Linked DNA regions of Homo sapiens: regions 1 and 2 are each linked to region 3. The links are contacts of gene promoters, found by promoter capture Hi-C in blood cells and fetal thymus (Javierre and others, 2016). All regions are on one chromosome and are shown on one strand. Each heading gives the region's core, a stretch centred on a gene start or on the middle of the fragment in contact. The rest is flanking DNA. Distances are from core to core; before and after follow the strand shown. Region 1 overlaps UTP6 (UTP6 small subunit processome component). Region 2 overlaps PSMD11 (proteasome 26S subunit, non-ATPase 11). Region 3 holds the start of RHOT1 (ras homolog family member T1).

Region 1 (3,941 bases), core at 13-2,512, 280 kb after region 3:
TATCTCTAATCTCGACCTAAGAGCCAGTTAAAATGAAGGAGAAAGTGGCCAGGCATGGTGACTCAACGCCTGTAATCCCAGCACTTTGGGAAGGCTGAGGCAGGCGGATCACCTGAGGTCAGGAGTTTGAGACTAGCCTGGCCAACATGGTGAAACCCCGTCTCTACTAAAAATACAAAAATTAGCCAGGTGTGGTGGTGGGTGCCTGTAATCCCAGCTGCTTGGGAGGCTGAGGCAGGAGAATTGCTTGAACCTGGGAGACGGAGGTTGCAGTGAGCCGAGATCATGCCATTGCTACTCCATCCTGGGTAAGAAGAGCGAAACTCCTTCTCAAGGAAAAAAAAAAAGGAGAAAGTACAGTTTTGTTGGTTTATTCTCATTATAAAAGATACGTGGTATGCATTTGTTCTGGAAAATATGGAGGAAATAGAATAGTGTGGTAAAAAAAAGCATCCTGTCACTGGGAGAAGCTTTCAGTGTAGCTTATTGTTACGTTTCACTTAGTATTGTTTTTCTGTGTCATTAAATAGCCTTAAAAACATTTAATGAATTCGTAACATTACATTGTAAAAATGAGCCATAATATATTTTACTAATCCTCTGGTTAGACTGTCTTTTTTTTTTTGAGATGGAGCCTTGCTCTGTCATCCAGGCTGGAGTGCAGTGGCTCCATCTCGGCTCACTGCAACCTCCACCTCCCGGGTTCAAGTGGTTCTGGCTCAGCCTCCCGAGCAGCTGGGTGGGATTACAGGCACCCGCCACCGCGCCCAGCCAATTTTTGTATTTTTAGTAGTGCGGGGGTTTCATCATATTGGCCAGGCTGGTTGCGAACTCCTGACCTCATGATCCACCCGCCTTGGCCTCCCAAAGTGTTGGGATTACAGGCGTGAACCACTAAGCCTGGCCTGGACTGTCATTTCTAATTTTTTTAAAAATTAGATAAATGCTGTTGATGAAGATTCTTGTCAATCTTTGTTCACATCCCTGGCCATTTCCTTAGGAGATTGACATCCGACAGTGGAATTACTGGATCAAAGGATACTGCTTTTAGAGAATACTGATATGTATTGCTGGTTTGCTCCTTCTTTCAAGCAATACATGAAAGTGTCAGTACCCTTACCTGTACTGGTGTAATTATATCTTTTATTTTTACCATTTTATAGGTGAAATGTGATATGTCATTGTTTTACCATACTTTGATATTAGTGAAGTTAGTGTATTTTATGTTTCTCATCTTTTTACATCCTTAGACTATTTAAAAATTTTTTTTCTTACTAATTTATGAGTTAATTTTTTTTTTTAAATTGGACAAGTTCTTGCTTTGTCACCTAGGCTAGAGTGCAGTGGTGTGATCATGGCTCACTACAGCCTTAACTTCTGGGCTCAAGAGATCCTCCCACCTCAGCCTCTTGAGTAGCTGGGACTGCAGGTGCACACCACCATGCCTGGTTAATTTAAATTTTTTTTTGTAGAGACTGGTCTTGCTATGTTGCCAGGGCTGGTCTCTTAAACAGTTGGGCTCAAACAATCCTCCTACCTCAACCTCCCAAAGTGCTGGTATTATAGGCATGAGCCATTGTGCCTGGCCAGAGTTTTTAAAAACATATTCAGAATATTAATATCTTGTTTCTCATTTGTTGCAAATAATTTTACCCCCAGCCTTGTTTGTGGTGATTTTTTTTTTTTGAGACAGAGTCTTGCTCTGTGGTCCAGGCTGGAGTGCAGTGGTGTGGTCTTACTGCAACCTCTGCCTCCTAGGTTCAAACAGTTCTCCCTGCCAAAGCCTCCCAAGTAGCTGGGATTATAGGCACCTTTTGTGGCGATTTTTGATGCCCAGAGGTATTTTGTGTGTGTATGTGTGATGTCTGTTTTTAAAATGCTTTGGAAGCTCTTCCTGGTGCTGAGAACAACTCTTTTTCCCCAAGCAGTTAATTTTGCCAACACTATTTGGGCAGTTATGTTTCTCTCTGCTGATTTGTGATGTTACCTTTATTATATATTAAATTTCTATGAGTATTAGAGTCTACTTTAGAACATTTTTATTTTAAGCTTTTGTACTGTTTTCTTTTTCTTTCTGGTTTTTTTTTTTTTTAGACCAAGTCTCACTCTGTCGCCCAGGCTGGAGTGCTGTGGGGCAATCTCTGCTCACTGCACCCTCCACCTCCCGGGCTCAAGTGATTCTCCTGCCTCAGCCTCCCGAGTAGCTGGGATTATGGGTGTGTGCCACCACGCCTGGCTAATTTTTGTATTTTTAGTAGAGATGGGGTTTCACCATGTTGGCCAGGATAGCCTTGAACTGACCTCAAGTGATCTGCCTGCCTCGGCCTCCCAAAGTGCTGGAATTACAGGAGTGAGCCACCGCGGCCAGCCCCTGTTTTCTTGTCATTTGTTTTAAAATAAGAAAAAAATTCCTCTTTTTCCTGTCCCTTAAGTCCTGGGATGTTTAACATTCTTAATCTTATTTGGCACTTTAATTTTACGAAAGAGATATGTAGATTAGGGAGCAAAGAGGATAGTGGTAGTCTCCTTAACACAAGGCTATAAGGGTGGTCACCTGGGGTCATCACATCCCTGTATCTGATTCTCAATATTGCAGGTTATGAAAACACATCTAGCTAGTACACCTAGAGTTGCACTGTTAGAAACAGTAGCTCCAAGGCACATGTAGCAATTTAAATTTATTAGAATTATTCAATTTATTCACATTGGCCACATTTCAAGTGCTCAGTAGGTATATGGTTACTATATTGGACAGTACAGATAGTAGAACTTTCATTTCCACTTCCACCATTAAAGAACGTTCTATTGGACATTGCTGACCTAGAGGCAGTTAGCCTTGGGGATACTGACTCCTGTGTAGGAACATCTACATATAGAACAAAAATAATATCGAATATTGTGTGTCAGTTTTATGCTAAATTTTTTCAAATGCCTTTTGTGTTGTACAAACAACACAGTCTTTGAGGGGGATGAAGGAAGAGGGTCTCATGTCCTGATGTTGACGTGATTAGCACACCTTGAGCTGGTTTGTTATTAGAGGTTAGGCACTGTGGGGAAGGCAGGGAAGGCTGTCTTTCCAGTTGGGCTGTTCCCAGCTCAGGCCCTGCCTATCCCCAGAAGCCACCTTTCGAGGCAAAATGGGAAATAATTAGGTTGTCGGTATCAGGCGTTGAGCATGGAAATACAGGAATCCCGAATGTTCAGGATTATTATGAGTAAGCGTCGTGGCCTGTATTCTGTGTCCACTGCATATTGCAGTTTGTGTCTTAATCATCTATCTTGGTTTCTAATGGATTAACTTCAAAGACGATCATTAGCTCAAGGTGGAGGTCACTGGGTTGCTCATGTGTCTTACCCACGCGGGGTTTTGAAGCTGGAGCACACCCCGAGTGGCCGAGTAGGGTACGCTTGGCGTTTCACACGCAGCTAGTCGTGCAGCCTTAGGATATGCACCGAGAGGAGTTTCCAAAATCCGTCTCCGAGATTGTTTCAGATTTCGCGCTGGGAGGGAGGGGCGGGCTCCGCGAGGCCGCGCGCCCCGCCCCCTGCGCCGCCCCGCCCCCGCTTGCTCGTGACACCCCCGCGCCCCGCCCTCTTGGCCGGTACCCACCCCCTCCCCAGGCTGATTGGCGCTTCTGCGGCGGATCCTCGGGCGGGCAGCCGGGCCGGCGCGTCACGTGGCCCACGGCGTCCAGGGCGACCAGCCGCGGGCCGCAGGGCATGGACCTTCAGGCCGCCGGGGCCCAGGCGCAGGGGGCCGCGGAGCCGTCTCGGGGCCCGCCGCTGCCTAGCGCGCGGGGGGCGCCCCCCAGCCCGGAGGTGAGCGCCGCGTGGGGGCCAGGAGCAACAGCCAGCCGCAGCCTGGGGCGGGAAGTCGCGGGGCCGGGCTGGGCGGGGGCCGCGGGGCCGGGGAAGCGCCTCTGGCCGGCCTCGGGCCGCCC
Region 2 (3,587 bases), core at 907-3,406, 310 kb before region 3:
TAAATCCACTTTTTTTTAAGAGATTACTATCTCCTTATCAAATAATCTGTCCCAGAACTCTACCACTGATGACCATGTATAGTGTCTACTCTTTATTTTTAATTTCTTTATTTCAATGTGCAGCACACAGTGAATACATCTATTCTTTGCATTACCCTCTTGAAAGGCAGGATAACATTTGCCTCATCTTCCTTATACCTCTCCATGATTTTTCTCAGAATAATATATGGCTCTATAGTTATATCTGCTAAAACTATTTTTTTGATAATAAAAGAAACTGTTAGAGCCTAGAGACCTGAACTTATTTACAGAGACTATCTGCTCTGTCTTCTCTCACCTACCATTAATTATCTCTTTCTGCTGTTATTTCTATCTTTTGCAGTTTGAAAATCATTTTCCTTCCTAGAAAAGGCAGAAGTGAAATATGAGCTAAGCAGTGTGCCTTTCTAACACCTGCTAGCCTTACAATATTTTCTCTAAGCACTGAGTGTTATCCTTCTTACGCCGAAAGAAGCAAATGATCTCTTAGTTGTCCCCCTACATGTCTTTTTCTTTTTTCTTTTTTTTTTTTTTTGAGAAAGAGCCTCACTCAGTCACCCAGGCTGTAGTACAATGGCACAATTGTGGCTCACTGCAGCCTTGACTTCCCAGGCTCAAGTGATCCTCCTGCCTCTGTTTCCCAAGTACCTGGGACACAGGCACGCACCACCACACCCAGTCAATTTTTTTATCTTTTTTGTAGATATGTGGTCTCCTTATGTTACCCATGCTGCTTTAAAAAAAAAAAATTTTTTTTAACAGAGATAGGGTCTTTGCTGTGTGGTCCAAACTGGTCCACATAACTCCTGGCTTCAAGCAATCCTCCCACCTCAGCTTCCCAAAGTCCTGGGATTACAGGTGTGAGCCACTGTGCCCACCTGCATTTTTCAGACTCAGTTCATCATCTGTTTTAGTCTACTACTGTTTTATATTCATTCTTGTTTGTATTTCCTGTTTCCTTCCACTTTCATACATACTGAGTTAATTTTTTTTTAAGTCCCATAAAATCATACTGACTTCCTCCTATTCTTACTGGGATTATCTGTAATTATATGACCAGATTTTCCTTGTCAGAACCTCACAGAACTTGGCTGGGCGCGGTGGCTCACACCTGGAATCCCAGCACTTTGGGAGGCCAAGGCGGGTGGATCACCTGAGGTCAGGAGTCCAAGACCAGCCTGGCCAACATGGTGAAACCTCGTCTCTACTAAAAGAAAAAAAAAAAAAAAAAAATTAGCCGAGCATGGTGGCTCACGCCTGTAGTCCCAGCTACTTGGGGAGGCTGAGGCCCGAGAATTGCTTGAACCCAGGAGGCAGAAGTTGCAGTGAGCCGAGATCACACCACTGCACTCCAGCCTGGGCAACAGAATGAAACTCGGTCTCAAAAAAAAAAAAGGCCAGGCACAGTGGCTCATGCCTATAATCACAACACTTTGAAAGGCTGAGGTGGGTGGATCATTTGAGGTCAGGAGCCCAAGATCAGCCTGGACAACATGATGAAACTCCGCCTCTACTAAAAATACAGAAATTAACCGGGGGTGGTGGTGGGCGCCTGTAGTTCCAGCCACTTGGGAGCCTGAGGCAGGACCTCACAGAACTCAACAGATTCCTTTTAGAAGTTTTAGGCTATGAAATCCTGAGCCAAGGCATCATGTCTGATGATGCTCAACACTACTAACACTACTTGCAATCACAATTACACATCAGACATTGTTTTATTTGGTAATCCCCAAGTGATTTTTGTTGGCCAGGGATCCTATCTTAAATTTTTGAGTAGAATACTTAGCACAATGCTATGCATTTATTAAATGCATAAAAAAACTGAACATTAATGGAACAGACATATTTTCTGTTCTCAGGAGCAAACAATACAAACATATCATTAATAGCAAAGACAGCTAAATATATGTAGGCCTCAACACTTCCTTAGAGTTCCCATTGTGTATACCTATACTCATCAAACTTTCTTAGAAAACAATAAGTAACATGGAAATGTTTTTGAAAGTTCTTATAATTCATCTATTAAATTCCAATAGCTTTAGCAGTACACTTCTAAACTTCTCAGGTCACAAGGCAGGAAGGGCAAGAAATAAGGGGAGAATACATATAAAATAGGAATTTCAAGCAAAACAGTAACATTTTTGGATGAAAATTACTTAAGTATTGACTATATACCACACACTGTTCTTAATTCATGCCACTGGAGGAAAGTAGAAATTTGGATATTTCAACAACAAAAAAATCTTTTTTTGAGACAGGGTCTTGCTCTGTCACCCAGGCTAGAGCACGGCAGTGTGACCATAGCTCACTACAGCCTCAACCTCCTCGGCTCAAGCAATCCTCCCACCTCAGCCTCCAGAGTAGCTGGGACTACAGGCACATAACACCACACCCAGCTAATTTTTCTATTTTTTGTAGAGACAGGGTCTCATTATGTTGCCAGAGCTGGTCTCAAATTCCTGGGCTCAAGGGATCCTCCTACCTCAGCCTACCAAAGTGCTGGGATTACAGGCATGAGCCATCACGCCTGGCTAACAACAAAAAAAATTTTCACATCACTTCAGTTGGCTTTATAATTCAGAAAAATTACCTTATTATATTTTGCATGGAGTAATTATCAAAACTGTTTTGGAACCCCCCAAGCTCAAATTAACTGACAGACAAGTGGAATCCTTATGTATGTTAAATAGGAAGGAAGTCAGCCTAAGATGAAAAGACACCACCCACCAATGATAATTCATTTAAGTAGACAGTTATAGGAAAGCAATAACCATGATGTCATGTGGCTATATGGGCTCTGAAGTAAGACTACATGAGCTCAAATCCTAGGTCTACCAGTTATTAGTTGAATGAGCTTTGTTAAGTTATTTAACTTTTCTGTGCTCAGTATCCTCATGTGTAAAATGGTAACAAAACCTACTTCAAGTTGTTTCGAGGATTCAATTAAGTTAAACCATGTATGTGTTTAGAAGAGTAACCACTTGGCCAGGTGCAGTGGCTCACACCTGTAATCCCATCATTTTGGGAGGCCAAGGCAGGTAGATCACCTGAGGTCAGGAGTTCAAGACCAGCCTGACCAACATGGTGAAACCTCGCCTCTACTAAAAAAAAAAATACAAAATTAGCCGGGCATAGTGGCGCATGCTGGCAATCCCAGCTACTCGGGAGGCTGAGATAGTAGAATCGCTTGAACCTGGGAGGCAGAGGTTGCAGTGAGCCGAGATCGCACCATTTGCACTCCAGCCTGGGCAACAAGAGCAAAACTCTGTCTCAAAAATAATAATAATTAAAAAAAAAAAAGTTCATAGCACTCAAAAACCATTATGGATGGTTCTTTTTATAGCTACTTAATGATGTTTTAAGTAAGATATAAGGCCCATGTAAACACATCCTCACAATTTCATACATCTTTATTCAGCTCTATAGACTGAGCCTAATAATTAATAAGTTAGTTATCTTTAATTGAAAAAAATCACTGGCCGGGCACAATGGCTCACACCTGGAATCCCAGCACTTTCGGAGGCCGAGGTGGGTGGACCATGAGGTCA
Region 3 (3,632 bases), core at 1,039-3,538:
GTCTCAAACTCCTGCGTTCAAGCAATCCTCCTGCCTCAGCCTCCCAAAGTGCTGGGATTACAGGAGTGAGCCACTGTGCCCAGCCATTAATATTTAAATTTTTTGTAGAGACAGGATCTCACTACATTGCCCAGGTTGGTCTCAAACTCCTTGGCCTCAAGTGATCCTCCTGCCTCAGCCTCCCAGAGTGCTTGGAATACAGGTATAAGCCACCTCACCCAGCTGTGTGGGAGCATTATTAAAGGTTTTTTTTCAGACAGAGTCTTGCTCTGCTGCCCAGGCTGGCATGTCTCAGCTCACTGCAACCTCCTCCTCCAGGGTTCAAGTGATTCTCCTGCTTCAGCCTCCAGAGTAGCTGGGACTACAGGTGTGTGCCACCACACCCGGCTAATTTTCGTATTTTTAGTAGAGACGGGGTTTCACCATGTTGGCCAGGCTCGTCTCGAACTCCTGACCTCAAGTGATCTGCCTGCCTTGGCCTCCCAAAGTGCTGGGATTACAGGCATGAGCCACAGTGCCTGTAATCCCAGGCACTGCACTCCAGCCTCGGTGACAGAGCGAGACTCTGTCTCAAAACAACAACAACAACAAACTATTTCATCATATATTTAAGGATCAGTTTTTTAAGCAAGTCGTCTACTCACTTTCCCTACCTTGCTCCAAAAGCATAAGCATGAATTATATGTTAAATAACACCTTCCTGAACCTTGTCAAGGAAGTCCATGAAAAATACAGATTAAGATATAGTTATAAATAAAAATAAAAATTTACAACTGCAAATCAAAAAGTAAACTATGGCTGGCTAAGCTTACTCCTAAATTCTAATTCTAAAGGAAGATTTCTCCAAACAGCAGGTGGATGAAATTTCAATGAACTCAAAGAACACTACAGAAGAGGGTAAAAACGTGTTAACTTTCTTCCTTGGGATTCCATCACGGTGACCCTGAGGGGTTACCAAGAATGAAATAATGGTTTAAAACAGAATGCTTCGAAACAGCAATGGCAGACTATTAACGAATGTATTAACTCTTTAAAACAAACAATCCAGTTATCCCTGGCCCACTTTCTTATTTTAGTCCTAGCAACTGAGTTACATAACTTGCAGAGTGAAATCAAGAAGTCCCCGCTGTTGCGTCCTCATGTCAGTGAACAGAGGGAACTCTCCTTTATTATATTTTCAAAAGGTGAAATGTATGAAATTTCTGGGTGGGGGGAGATATCAAATGTCTGTGTGCCTGTGGTTATTAATAAGTTAACTACGAAGTAACTATGGAATAAATAATGCTTAAAAAGAGGGCAAAGATTACGCTTTAGGGTAACAACAATTGGACCCTCCCCAGATAATTCTAATTCATTGAGCGCTTGCATAACTCGAAGTTGAGTAAAAATTTTTGATGAAATATCTCGAGTACGAGGAGTTAGTCCAATGCAAAGTACAAGTACTGCTAAAAAGGATCCGGCCCTTTCCACTACTCATATCTTAATGTCAATACATAGAGAGAGTGAAGACTGCGAGTGCCAAAAAAATGCAGAAACCTGACCTTGCCCACAAGTCGAATAGTTCTGCACCCCTCCCCCAGCTTCCCCGGGAGCCGGTTCACGCAATCCCTATTGGTCAGTCTGCTTATTCCAGCACCTGCCTGGCAGTGATAAGGGAATCTCCAGAAGACAAGAAGGTCTGAAAGGAGGCGGCCTGGGAAACTGTGAGGCCCAGAAGGACAGGGTTCGAAGAGGAAAAGGAGGAGAGAAGCTTCGGAGGGATGAGGTCGGGCGGTTAGGGCTAATAGGGACATGGCTTGGGAGGACGGCTGGGGAACAGGGAAAGGAGATCTCTGGAGGGCCCAGGTGAGGTGACAGGGTGAGGGCCGCCGGCGGCCAGCCAAAAGAGAAGAGTGAAGGGGCTGGAAGGCCTAGGAACGCGGAGAAAGGCGAGCGGAGCTGTGAGGCGCGAGAAGGGCCGGGGCTGCAAAGGTTGGGGCTGCAGGGGCGACAGGGGCGACAGGGGCTGCAGGGGCAGGGAGGGCAGGGACTCAGGGGCCGGCCAGAGGGTGCGGACTCACGTTCTCCCACCAGCAGGATCCGCACGTCTTTCTTCATGTCGGCGGCTCTCGGGGGCCGGCCTCCGCCCGCACGCACGGAGTGGACTCCTCTCACCAGGAGCACCCACCCCACGGCGCCACCTGCCAGCCTCTTCGGCCGCCGGGGCCCGCCGCGCCGCCCCCTCAGTTGCTTCCCCGCAAGAGAGCCGGGACAGCGCCAGCTCCGCCTCCTCCGGCCCAGCGGGCTGTGGCGGCGGCGGCGGCGGCGGCGGCGGCGGCGGCGGCGGCGGCGGCGGCGGGGACGACGGCACGCGGCGAGGGACACGCGCTTTCGGAACGCGAACGCGCTCTGCGCCGGAACAGCGCTCCCGCTGTCAGGCCGCCGCAGCGCAGGCCCAGGGAGCCTCGCCCACCCTCCTTTGGGCACCGCGACCCCGGAGACACTTGGGCCAGGAATTTGAATGGCGGATTCCCTGGTTTAACCCCGTTTATTTTATAGATAGGGACAGAAATTCCCTGTTCAAAGTCACATAGCTAGAGCTTGGCAGTGACTCAGAGCAGGGATCTTCTCACCAGACCATAAACTCCGGGAGGGCAGCGATCAGCTTGCATGGTTTTCAGCTGCGTCCCCACGTTATTGGATAGGGCCGTCAGAAAATGCTTGATCGAGTAGGGCGACTGGCTCCCAGGATCCGGCGCTTTCCACTCCCCAAAGCCCGTCACCCTAGTTGCTTTTGCCTCTGATGCTTATAAAATACGATTATAAGATTCGTTTTTACGCTGTGTGAACAAGACTCCTTTCTTTATAACCAAACTAAGTGACTTTTTTTCTGTCTATGTAGTTTATTTTATGGCAGGGTTTTCGGACACTCTTCTTTACTCAGGCTTACCCAGCGTAATGCTAGACACGGAGGTGGCACTCGATAATAAACTCTAGATGATTTTTCTAACATTGCCTTAATTTTCTCGTGACCCTCTCCATCTGGAGGAATTTGTTGTTACATGCTTAATGTTTGGTACACAATGGCAAATATATATATATACATACGCGTGCGAATATATATCACATCCCTAATACTTGGCACACAGTGGGAAATATAAAATACATAAATTAATGAGGAAGCACTATCTGTGCATAATGTACATTTTTTCTATCTTAAATATTACACAATAAACACTTAAAGGGAATGAAATGTGCGTAATACCAACTTCCCTTTCTCCTAGGAGAAGTCATGTGGTCTCTTGCAGCAGTTAAGAGTTGCTGGCAAATTTCCTGGGTTTGAATCTAGGCTCCACATAATAGCTCTGTGATCTCGACTAAGTGCTTTTATTTTTACTTCCCTCAGCCACTGTTCCTTCTTCTGTAGCATGGAAATAATGATGATAATACCTTCCTCTTGAGATGGTTGTGAGTAATAAATACTATAATACTTGTCAAGCATTTGGTACAGTGCCAGACTCAGAGCGTGTGCTCTACTGATCTCAGCTATCATTATTATATTAAAAAGTCACTAAAAAGTTGTAATCCACAGATTTTTTGTTTTGTTTTGGTTTTGTTTTGAGACGGAGTCTCGCTCTGTCGCCCAGGCTGGA

Evidence for each region. Contacts are between HindIII fragments. The CHiCAGO score rates a contact against its expected background, and 5 or more counts as called.
Region 1: a contact is called between a fragment that was not itself captured here and the fragment with the promoter of RHOT1 in region 3, in 1 of 17 cell types (fetal thymus). The highest score is 5.0, in fetal thymus.
Region 2: a fragment that was not itself captured here is called in contact with the fragment with the promoter of RHOT1 in region 3 in 1 of 17 cell types (erythroblasts); the score reaches 6.2 in erythroblasts.

Annotation. Positions count from the first base shown.
Region 1 is chr17:31,858,979-31,862,919 of GRCh38, reverse strand. UTP6 (UTP6 small subunit processome component) reads left to right here. Exons shown (of 19, transcript NM_018428.3): 19 at 1-2,016. COPRS (coordinator of PRMT5 and differentiation stimulator) reads left to right here and starts at 3,676. Exons shown (of 4, transcript NM_018405.4): 1 at 3,676-3,819. The coding sequence starts at 3,721. RefSeq lists a silencer at 3,526-3,941. The HindIII fragment of the contact is 1,579 bases long and covers 473-2,051 here.
Region 2 is chr17:32,448,108-32,451,694 of GRCh38, reverse strand. The region is part of intron 2 of PSMD11 (proteasome 26S subunit, non-ATPase 11); the gene reads right to left. Among named protein-coding and RNA genes, the nearest start is that of PSMD11, 5.4 kb to the right of the region's middle. The HindIII fragment of the contact is 6,802 bases long and covers 1-3,587 here.
Region 3 is chr17:32,141,158-32,144,789 of GRCh38, reverse strand. RHOT1 (ras homolog family member T1) reads right to left here and starts at 2,288. Exons shown (of 20, transcript NM_001033566.3): 1 at 2,061-2,288. The coding sequence starts at 2,097. LOC105371730 (a long non-coding RNA gene) reads left to right here and starts at 1,655. Exons shown (of 2, transcript NR_136413.1): 1 at 1,655-1,765; 2 at 2,077-3,564. RefSeq lists silencers at 2,008-2,067, 2,098-2,327 and an enhancer at 2,788-2,957. The HindIII fragment of the contact is 3,152 bases long and covers 1,753-3,632 here.